2 separate regions of the Homo sapiens genome follow, and region 2 is linked to region 1. The links are contacts of gene promoters, found by promoter capture Hi-C in blood cells and fetal thymus (Javierre and others, 2016). All regions are on one chromosome and are shown on one strand. The core of a region is centred on a gene start or on the middle of the fragment in contact, and the rest is flanking DNA. Distances in the headings are between cores, read along the strand shown. Region 1 holds the start of RTN1 (reticulon 1). Region 2 has its middle 16 kb from the start of CCDC175.

Evidence for each region. Contacts are between HindIII fragments. The CHiCAGO score rates a contact against its expected background, and 5 or more counts as called.
Region 2: a fragment that was not itself captured here is called in contact with the fragment with the promoter of RTN1 in region 1 in 1 of 17 cell types (M2 macrophages); the score reaches 5.6 in M2 macrophages.

Annotation. Positions count from the first base shown.
Region 1 is chr14:59,868,781-59,873,738 of GRCh38, forward strand. It overlaps RTN1 (reticulon 1), which reads right to left and starts at 1,996. Exons shown (of 9, transcript NM_021136.3): 1 at 1,610-1,996. The coding sequence starts at 1,850. RefSeq lists a silencer at 1,905-2,004. The HindIII fragment of the contact is 1,996 bases long and covers 594-2,589 here.
Region 2 is chr14:59,590,281-59,595,238 of GRCh38, forward strand. No RefSeq gene overlaps it. Among named protein-coding and RNA genes, the nearest start is that of CCDC175, 16 kb to the left of the region's middle. The HindIII fragment of the contact is 3,436 bases long and covers 442-3,877 here.

The sequences.
Region 1 (4,958 bases), core at 746-3,245:
AACAATTTACTTTGATTACAGTGGATAAAGATTCTGAACTATGAGCAGTCTATCCTCAACAAAGAATGGTAAAGACAAAAACTACCTTCCTTTGTCTATTATCATTTGCCATCTTCTTTTGCAATTATAAAGAGTTTTGTTTTCACTTGGATGCAGAAGTTGAAAGAGAGACTGAGCAGCCATTCTTAGATTTAAATCCTCCCCCACTCCTAGGGATATAATAATTAATATATAACCTTTGGCGTTTGGCGTTGGGGCTTTTGAGTACTTTTCTTTCTTTCTTTTTCTTTTTTCTTATATAGGGTCTCCACTTTTTCTCTTCCTTTCAGGATATTGACAATTTTTATTCAACGCATTCTCCAAACCTCTTTTCCCCAGCTCAGATCTTCTGTACCAGGGCAGTTAATTACGATTACCTTAGACATTCCACATAACCCTTAAGAGAAGCTTACGAAAAGGGGTTTCTTTAAATCAACCACCAAGAGCACACACACCAGTCCCACTCCCCTTCCCCTCCTCTGGGAGCACCCCCCACCCCAGGCCTTCTAGCTCTACATTGCCAAAACTACACAACTCCCACTCCACCATAGCAAAGCTTTCTCAGGAAAGAGCACCACACAGCATCCCCTTTCCTCTCCCTGGAAACAGCGTTAACCAGGCCGGCAGCCTCAAAGCGCGCTTCCTGGATCCTTTGACCAGGATGCGCCAGGGGCCTGGGCTCCCGCTGGACACTGGCGCGCTCAGACTTTGAATAGGGCGTCAGGCGAAGAATGGCCAAACCCAGGGCAATTTCCGGGGTGGGGGGGGGGGGGCGCTTAGACTGCTGGTAAACTGTACCACGTCCACTCACCACCACCCAAGCCCTCCAACCCACAGCCAGGCCCGCCGCACTTAGGACTTGAAGTTTCAATGCTCCCTGCAAGGTGGGGCCATCCGGGCAGCGGCGAAATACAGGTTTTGGGCGGGGGCAGCCACAGCACCCAACCCTCTTGCAAAGCTGTGCCTCCCGAATTAGGGACAAACTCCCTGGGATTTGTTTTCTGCGGGAGAAAAGGCGGAGGGATGTGGGGGGAGTAAGGTGTGGTGGCGATTCGTGGAGGGCAAGGGTAAGGGGCAGTTACAGCCACATCTCTGCCCTGGACAGAGCCGGGTCCAGGGGCCGCGGGCCTGCCCGCCGCTCGGTTGTCAGCATCTCCTGTAGCCGGCGCGCACACTGCGCGCAAACACGCCCCCCAAAATCCCCACAACCTGTCAAACGGGCCCTACAGCTCGGAGCCTCCTGGCAGGAGGGAGAAACTTGTACCCAGACTCGCCAGCAGCCAGAATGCTGCTGTTTGCCTATGAGAACAATTTTTAAAGCGGAAATAATCATGATAATGAAATAAAAGGATCAAAAGCATCTTGACTTTTTCTGAGCCTTTGGGAAAAATAAAATTGTTGTTTTCTACCAGCCCGCGAATATTCCCAGTCGCCCGTGGCGACGCGGGGGTGGGGTCGGCGCTCAAGGCAGAAAGCGCGAGGCAGGTGCCCAGGAGAGCCGCGCAGAAGGGGACTGACTGGGGGGCCCTGGTCCCCGACGCCATTTGAGGGGCAGCGGCGCCCGCCTTACCTGTGGATGCAGTTTCCATGGCAACGGGCGACTGCCGGGCGGGGCCCGAGCCGGCTTCCCGCGACGCCGCTTCCCGGGCCCTGGCGCCCAACCCCGGGCTGGGCTCCCCAGCCTGCGGCGCCGGCGTGGCCCCTTTCGGCGTCACCGCTTCGTTCTCCCCCTCCCCCCGGTGCCTGAGCCACTGGGACCCGGGGCCGGCCAGCGGCAGCAGCTCGTCCTGCGGATCCCCCGGCGCGGCCATGGCTGGCGGTCCCCCGGCGCGGCGACGGCGGCTTGGCTGGGCAGAGGCTCGGTGGCTGCGCGGGCGCTCCCTGCTGCTGTCCCCGGAGGGACTCGGCGCTCAGGGAAGCTGCGGTGTCTCAGCGTCGCCGCCGCCTCTGCTGCAACTCCGCCGAGCCGCTGCCTGCCGCTCTTCCCGCTTCAGCTCCTCCTTCTCCCCCCTCCTCTTCCTCCGGCCCCGCCGCGGCCGCTGCCTGCGCTCCTCCTCCTACTCCACTCGCTGCTGCCGCCGCTGCTTCGCTATTCCCAATCCTGTTATTACGCAGGTGAAAATGGCCTGCTTGGTCCGGGTCCTCCTGGGCACGTCAGCCCCCAACCTGCAAATGGCAGGCCCCGGTTAGGGGATGTGCCAAATCCACTCGAATCTTCCTCTCGTTTGGGGAGGAAAAAAAAGGAAGAACCAGCAAGTAGCAGCAGCCACCAGCAGCGTCGCCTTCCCAACTGAGAAAGTTAAGCCCCGACTGGTGTCCTGGGTCCCGAGGCAAAGAGGGAAAGCTAGAGAACTCAGGGCCACAGTTCTGAGAGTGACCAGTATGAGTTGTGGAGGGGACACAGGTCTGAACGGGGAAGGGGTGGAGATGGGTTCTGATGGCAGATGGAGACCAGGGAAGCTGCAACCCCGCGGTTAAATCCTGCGTTTCCAGAATGGGCCTGAAAATAGTGGAGTAAAGAAATGAGTTATCAGGACAGCCTCCAAAAAAAGCTTAACAGATCTCACCCTGACCAGCCCTGAGGGCAAACAGGGTGTCAATAGGCAAGGACAAAAGCTGTACATTTGCTTTCAGAAACACTGAGCCAAGGCCATCCTAATCATAAGCTGTCTGTGCAGTCCGTTGTATTTCAGAATTTGGACATTCCATGAAGCTTGCATCTTTTTCTTTACAGTTCACTGTGATAAAATGGAAGATAGTCAGCAAATAAACCCAAACTCAGAGGAGGAAAGTGACTTGCCTTATCATATGTTGTGCCCATACGAAGACCCATCTTTTCAAATGTCTTGTGTTTTATTGGTTCCCAAGTTGTTTATATAATAAAATAATGTGCCTTTAAAAACTAAGATTCACCACAACACACAGGGTGAAGGAATAGGTTTTTCTGCTGTTTCTTCTCTAGGAAAGGTGGGCGCAGACGGTACCGCACACACTGTGAGACTGTGGGACTCTTGGCCACCATGCGCATCTTGAGGATTTCATACCTGTCCATTGGTATATTCAAAGGCCAACTTCAGGACCATTCAGGTGCTCCTCAATAATGCTAAAATGAAAAAGCCCAGAGTCTGCCTAATCTTTTGTTCTGCTAGTGCACTAATGTTCAAAAGATGACAATAAATTAGAGAAAAATCATTCACTAAACAATAAATATGGCCTCCTGAAGCCAGATATCCCTGGAAATCTGATGGTCACCAAAATTTTACATTTTTGACATACTCAAAATTATGTCTCATGATGGAAATATTCACTATCTAGATTGTGGTTATAGCTTCACAGGTGCAAACATATGTCAAAACTTATTGTTTACTGTAAATATGAACAATTTAATGTGTTGTCAGTTATAACTCAATAAATCTATAAAAATAATCTCATCCAAAAACAACAAAATAATTGGTTATCATGAATCATAATGATTTTTAAACATCTTTCCATGGGAAAACAAGAGTGTATTTAAAAAACCGTTAAGTTGAAAAGCTTATTCCACTGCTGTATTTCCATGGAGCTTAATCCTGTCTTGTAATTAGAGGGCACTTGTAAGTTTTTTCAAATCTATTACTTAGTATTCCCTAAAGCATCAGAAATACTAGATGGGAATTTCTCATGGTTTTATTACTGATAACAAGACAAGAACATAGACAATTCTAATGATATAACCTTAAAGTGGTTATTGATGAATACTAATATTTGAGAATTGCTATGCAAAGGAGTTACATACAAAATAATATGAAGTATATTCTTTTGTTTCTCTGAGAAACATGAATGAAAGTCATCATTAAAAAACTGGGAGACCTAAGCAAGCCTCTGTGTTTCCTTATGATTAATAGATAGGAAGTTTGGGGATATGATTCTAATTATTTGTCAATTTCTTTCATACTAATCAATACTCTCATTGAGAATGTGTGAAGGAAATAGCCAGTTAAATCTATTTAGAGTGTAGTTGTTAAAGGAAATTGAACATTATTGACAGTTCCATTTTGATAAAGTATTCTATTTTACACTGCTGAAAAGAGATGAGCACAAGATTTCAGTGTTAGCAATTTTCATTACTAACTTTCCTTATTAGACTCCACCTTTGGATGTATAAAAATTATCTATTTGGGGGAAGAAATTTTCAGGTTTATGCTATGACTTGAAATGATTCATGTTTATTAATATTATTTATTTTGCACCGCTCTGAACTGACAAAGCTTGACTAATTTGAAGATTTATGGGCAAAACACACAGTCGGCAATGGGATTCTGGGGCTTACATAGTTGCTCTAAGTTACGAATTACTCTAAAATGCTTTTCAGACACAGAGAAAATAGGATTGTCACTTTTAAAAGGTTCTTAGCAAGAAGAGTTGAGACAAAAGAACTGTCACGTTTTGTTTTCAGCTTTTGTTTTTTGGAAAAGAAGTTTTGTTCATCATTTGAAAAGAAGAAATGAGGAGCATTTATTTAGCACTAGCTTCTTAACTTAGTCCAAACCATATATCATGGGGAAACACGGTGTGGGGACATGCAGGAAGAGCGCCACAAGTAACAAGCTTTAACCAAGATGAAATTCTTTCCAGCCTCAATATTAAAGTTACCTAACATCTCTACAACCCAGGTTCCTCAACTGTAACCTGGAGATTTTTTTTAAAATTTTTGTGGGTGGGTACATAGTAGGTGTATATATTTATGGGGTATATGAGATATTTTAATACAGGCATACAATGAATAATAATCATATCATGGTAAATAAGGTATCCATCACCTCAAGCTTTTATCCTTTCTTTGTGTTACAAACAATCCGATTATAATCTTTTTGTTGTTTTGAAATATAAAATAAATTATTGTTGACTGTAGGTGCCCCATTGTGCCAGTGAATACTAGA
Region 2 (4,958 bases), core at 910-3,409, 280 kb before region 1:
TAAGGGCCTCACCTGCCTTTCTGGAGGACAGACACTCACAGAGTTTCTGAGAGGAAGAAAGCCAAGATTGGCTAAGATGCAGCATGGTCTTCCCAAGTCTGCTGTCATGATGCAGCCCCCTTTCAAGGGTCAAAATCTATTTCATCTCCCAGCCAAAACTGCCTTCGTGGCATCTTGAGCACTGAAGACCACGTATCTCAAACTAGGGTTACTTGGTGTAAAAAGAAAAACATGGTATATTCTCCTTGAGTCAACTTAATGCAGAAGTATGGGGAAGAATTTTTAAATTAAGGTAAATGCAAAGGTCTTATGCAATGACAGACAAGTTCACATTAACTTCTAAGATGAAATATGTGATTAAAGAAATTCTTTGCTTGCAAAGCTGGCTTCTGAACCATCTCCACTGAAGGGGTATACATTCACACTCTACTCCCAGTGGGAAGCTTCCCTGATAGGGGAGAAGTGGGAGCTTGAAGCGCAGTGGGCTTCCACGTGGTTGCATGTGCCTCTTGAACCACAGGGATGTAAAAGCATTCCAGGAACATGTCTTAGGGAAGTGTAGAGCTTTGGAGAGGCACTGTGGGTGAGGACTGGCCAGGTATTCCTCCAGAATGTTCTGCTGAAAAGATGAAGCACTGCTCCAGAAAGCTGGAGGCAAATCTGTGTACCCCATTTCGTATGTTCTTCCCTGTTCATTTCTCTCTGTCTCCATGACACACACACCCTTTTTATTGACTGGCCCTGGATTTATAAGTCAAGGGAACAAAGACAAAAAAGAGAATTATCTATTCACTACTTGAATTTTGACAAAGTACATTTTACCTTCACCTTGATTCATAAGCCAAACATAAGCATTTCCTCCATTGAGCTTATTAAGTACTAGAAAAATGGCTGGGAGATGCTAAAACCATATTTTATTAAAAGACAAGTTAAATTTAATTTTAATAATACATTTAAGAAAGCAGTCTTAAATATCTTGATTCTGACATGTCAAATGCATCATGAAAAAATCACTTTGGGGAAGATATAATTCAATGTGATTGTTTTGTTACAAAATGCTAGTTACTTAAAATGTTTGAATATTTTTTTAAAAAAGGTTAATGTCTCGTCCATTATATTTGGCTACCTTATTTCTGTTAGAGATGGCTAGAAATAAAGGTTGAAAAAAAGTTACCCTTCATATGAACTGTTTAATTTTTGAGTATTATTTTGACATAGGCTGCCATTAGTCACTTAAGAATTTGACTCCTGTCATAATTTAGTGATGACTTCTCTTGTTTTATAAAGACATAAACATACAAAGCAAAATCCAGAGCAGTTGTATGTTTAGAGAAAGCAGGCCAAGATGAAGTGTTAATTCTTCAGGACCATTTTATCATTTTAGGGAGAAACTGTTGCAGGCCGAAAGTGTGAGGGTTGTGATCAACTCAGTATACCACTGGAGGCTGTATGAGTAAACAGCAAACTGTTCTCATAAATGCAGAATGTTGGCAAACTCACAAACTGCATCTGCCACCCAGAAGGAATGCTGAGGGCAGACATGACCCAGGCACAAGTGTTTCTTATGATTAGGCAAATCCAAAGCCTGTTAGCAATAATATGCACCTGTCATCAATCAAGCAGCTGACCAATCGTTAGCTCCTCCTCCCTGCTCTTCCTACCCAATAAATACGAAGGGCTGTATAAGCTCAGGGCTGCTGCCCTTGCTCACTAGAAGCAGGGAGCCCTCTTCTTCTTCCCCTGGCACCTTCCTTTAAAACAGTTTCTTTTGTTTTTTTGTTATTATTTCTACGTTCATCCCCCTTCATTCAGTCTCGTAATGATGGTCTCAAGTAGTAACAGTAGTAACTGTCATAGTGATAGTCTCAAGTAGCAATTGTGGCAGTCTGCCACAAGAAACCAGAGACAGCTGATTCTAGCAGAATTGCTTTCAAAGACAATAATGGTCTAGAATGCAAATTAATTCATTTCAATGTACTCATCAAAGAAAATGTGGCCAGCCAGACTGATTTTGTAACATAGAATTTAATATTAAATGTATTGAATTAAGGAAAATTTAAAATCATAAAATAAACCACAAAAATAAAATTATACAATAAAAATCTGATTAAGGAGCTTGAGGAGGGTGCCAACATCAAGCACTAGGGAAGCCGGTCAGCGTCTGAAGGCAGGTGGCCCTTCTGCCTGGATCAGCAGAGGGGACTTAGTCCCCCTCCAACTACGAACGCATTTGGTATGAGCTCCAGTGGTGGCTCCTCTGTCTCCCCTACGTGCTTCTCTGCACACAGAAGAGAGTGCTAACCTTCTGATGCTCAGAGCAGCCCTATTCAAGGACAATGTGGTGATTGCTGGAACCTCACAGCTGTGAAGCAAGGCCCAGCAATCAACCACACCCCACGTGCATTTGGGTGAGGTAGAAAGCTGTGGGACTACTTCTCAGCAGTGATTCCCTAGAGAGAGAAACAAAATGCAGAGATAGGTTTGGGATCTACACCAGGAGGAAGTCTTTATAATAGGGTAAGGGACCATATGAGCCCTGAGGTAGTGTCAGGTGGAACTGTGCACCACCCTTAAACCAGATATGTTGAAGCCCCAAACCCCTGTACCTCAGAAATGTGACCTTACTGGAAACAGGGTCTTTATAGAGATAATCAAGTTAAAATGAGGTCCTTAGGGTGGGCCCTATTCCACTACGACTGGTGTCCTTATTCAAAGGGGAAATTTGGACACAGAGGGAAGACAATATGACACAGGGAAGCGGCACCCAGTGACTGGAGTATCCCATCTGCAAGCCGGGAGCACCAAGGATGGCTGACAAATGCAGACATTAGAAGAGGCAAGGAAGTGTTCTCCCTTAGAGCCGAAAAAGAGAGCAGGGCCCTGCCAACACCTTGATTTTGGACTTCTAACCTCCAGAACAGTGACAGAATAAATTTATGTTGTTTTAGGAAACCCAGATTTTGAGGCTGGGCCTGATGGCTCACACCCGGTAATCCTAGCACTTTGGGAGGAGGCTGAGATGGTGGATCACTTGAGGTCAGGCGTTTGAGACCAGCCTGACCAACATGATGAAACCCTATCTCTACTAAAAATATAAAAATTAGCTGGGTGTGGTGGCACGCGCCTGTAATCCCAGCTGCTTGGGAGGCTGAGGCAGGAGAATCACTTGAATCCAGGAGGTGGAGGTTGCAGTGAACTGAGATTGTGCCACTTCACTCCAGCCTGAGAGTTTAAAAAAAAAAAAAACCCCAGATTTTGATACTTTTGTAGAGTAACCCTAGGAAACTAACATGGGTGGGGAAAGAGCAGAGGACATAGAAACTATCATGCTTTATCCGTTAGAATACTGCAGCTTCTTCATTTGCTCTTACTGCTTTCACTCATCCATATATGGGCTGTAAGAATTTTCTACTGTTCACAGCTTTCAGAATCACCTCACTCACTCTGGATTTTCCAGGGGCTCTGCTCTTGGTCCTCTTCTCATCTGTTCACATTATTTCCATCATCTTGAATATCACCTGGGCTGATGCTCCCTGTAGAAACAGGGTATAATGTGCCCCATGTTCCATTTGTGAAAAATCTACATCCATACCTACTATTTTGGAAGCCTGGAGTTTCCTTAGGAAACTTCTCCACCACTGCCAGCAAAGAGAGTTCCTAATTAGACCTTCCTAATGAGCAGCTGCCTGTGAGAGGAATTCTGGGTCTATAGTATGAGGACAATGTTGCAGATACAGATATTGAAGATTAATTCTATACAATAAAGCCATGTAGAAGAAACTTTGTCTAAAAGGTTGGAGGCTGAAAAACATAAAGAAAAAAGAAAATCCTCTTCTAAATCTAGTAACCATTAAAAAAAAAATCAGGCACCAAACTAAGCTTAGTATCTTCTTTCCCCAAATAATCTCTTCTGGGCTCTCTGTCCTGGAAAATGGCATTGCATCCTGCTGATCAGCGAGTCTTAGTGCTGGGCTAGGGTGAGGCAACCGAGCTTCCTTGGGTGCAAAATTCAAGGAGGCACTCATTCTCAAGGCCAGCTTTCATCTTGAAGCCCCGCAGCTAGTTGGTTACCAGCTCCAGTCCAATCTCCCTCCACATCATCTGTTAGCTGCACCTTATCCATGGTGGGTGCTTGGCATGCTGGGCTATCAAGGATCAGGGACAGGTGAACATCTTTCTATTCTTTCTGTGGCTGTTCTAGTAAAGACCTAGTCATTTGGCACCTGGGTGGAGTTAGGTTACAATTATCACTCTATTTGTCTAGCCTTCAGTATCTTGTACCTTTGTTGTGTCTATGTGACTCTCTGAGATGTAGAGAATAAAGCCCAAACTCCTTGGCACAGGCATCCAAGTTTCTTCCCATTGTGATCTCAACCCACCTTTCCAGCTTTATCTGGCACTATCATTCCCACCCCAAGAACTTTACAACCCATCTAAGCTTGTTTAACTCACCATTCTCTGCATATGCCTCACACTCCACATCTTGGCACTTTAGCTCATGTTCTTTCTTTATCTCGGGCTGGACCTTCTTCATGTGGCAAAAACCAAACCAGGACCCAGCCGTGAAGTTCACCTCCCCTGAGAATCTTCTGTTGCTCAAACCCTGCATCATGGCTCGTTTTTTTTTTTTTGGAGACAAAGTCTCGCTCTGTTGCCCAGGCTGGAGTGCAGTGGTGTGATGTCAGCTCACTGCAACCTCCGCCTCCCAGTTTCAAGCGATTCTCCTGCCTCAGCCTCCTAAGTAGCTGGGATTACAGGCAGGTGCCACCACACCCAGCTAATTTTTGTATTTTTAGTAGAGACAGGGTTTCACCATGTTGATCAGGCTGGTCTTGAACTCCTGACCTCGTGATCCTCCTGCCTCAGCCTCCCAAAGTGCTGGGGTTACAGGCGTGAGCCACCGCGCCCTGCCAATGGCTCTTGTTTTATGCTACCCTTTGCTCAGTTGGCATTTCCAC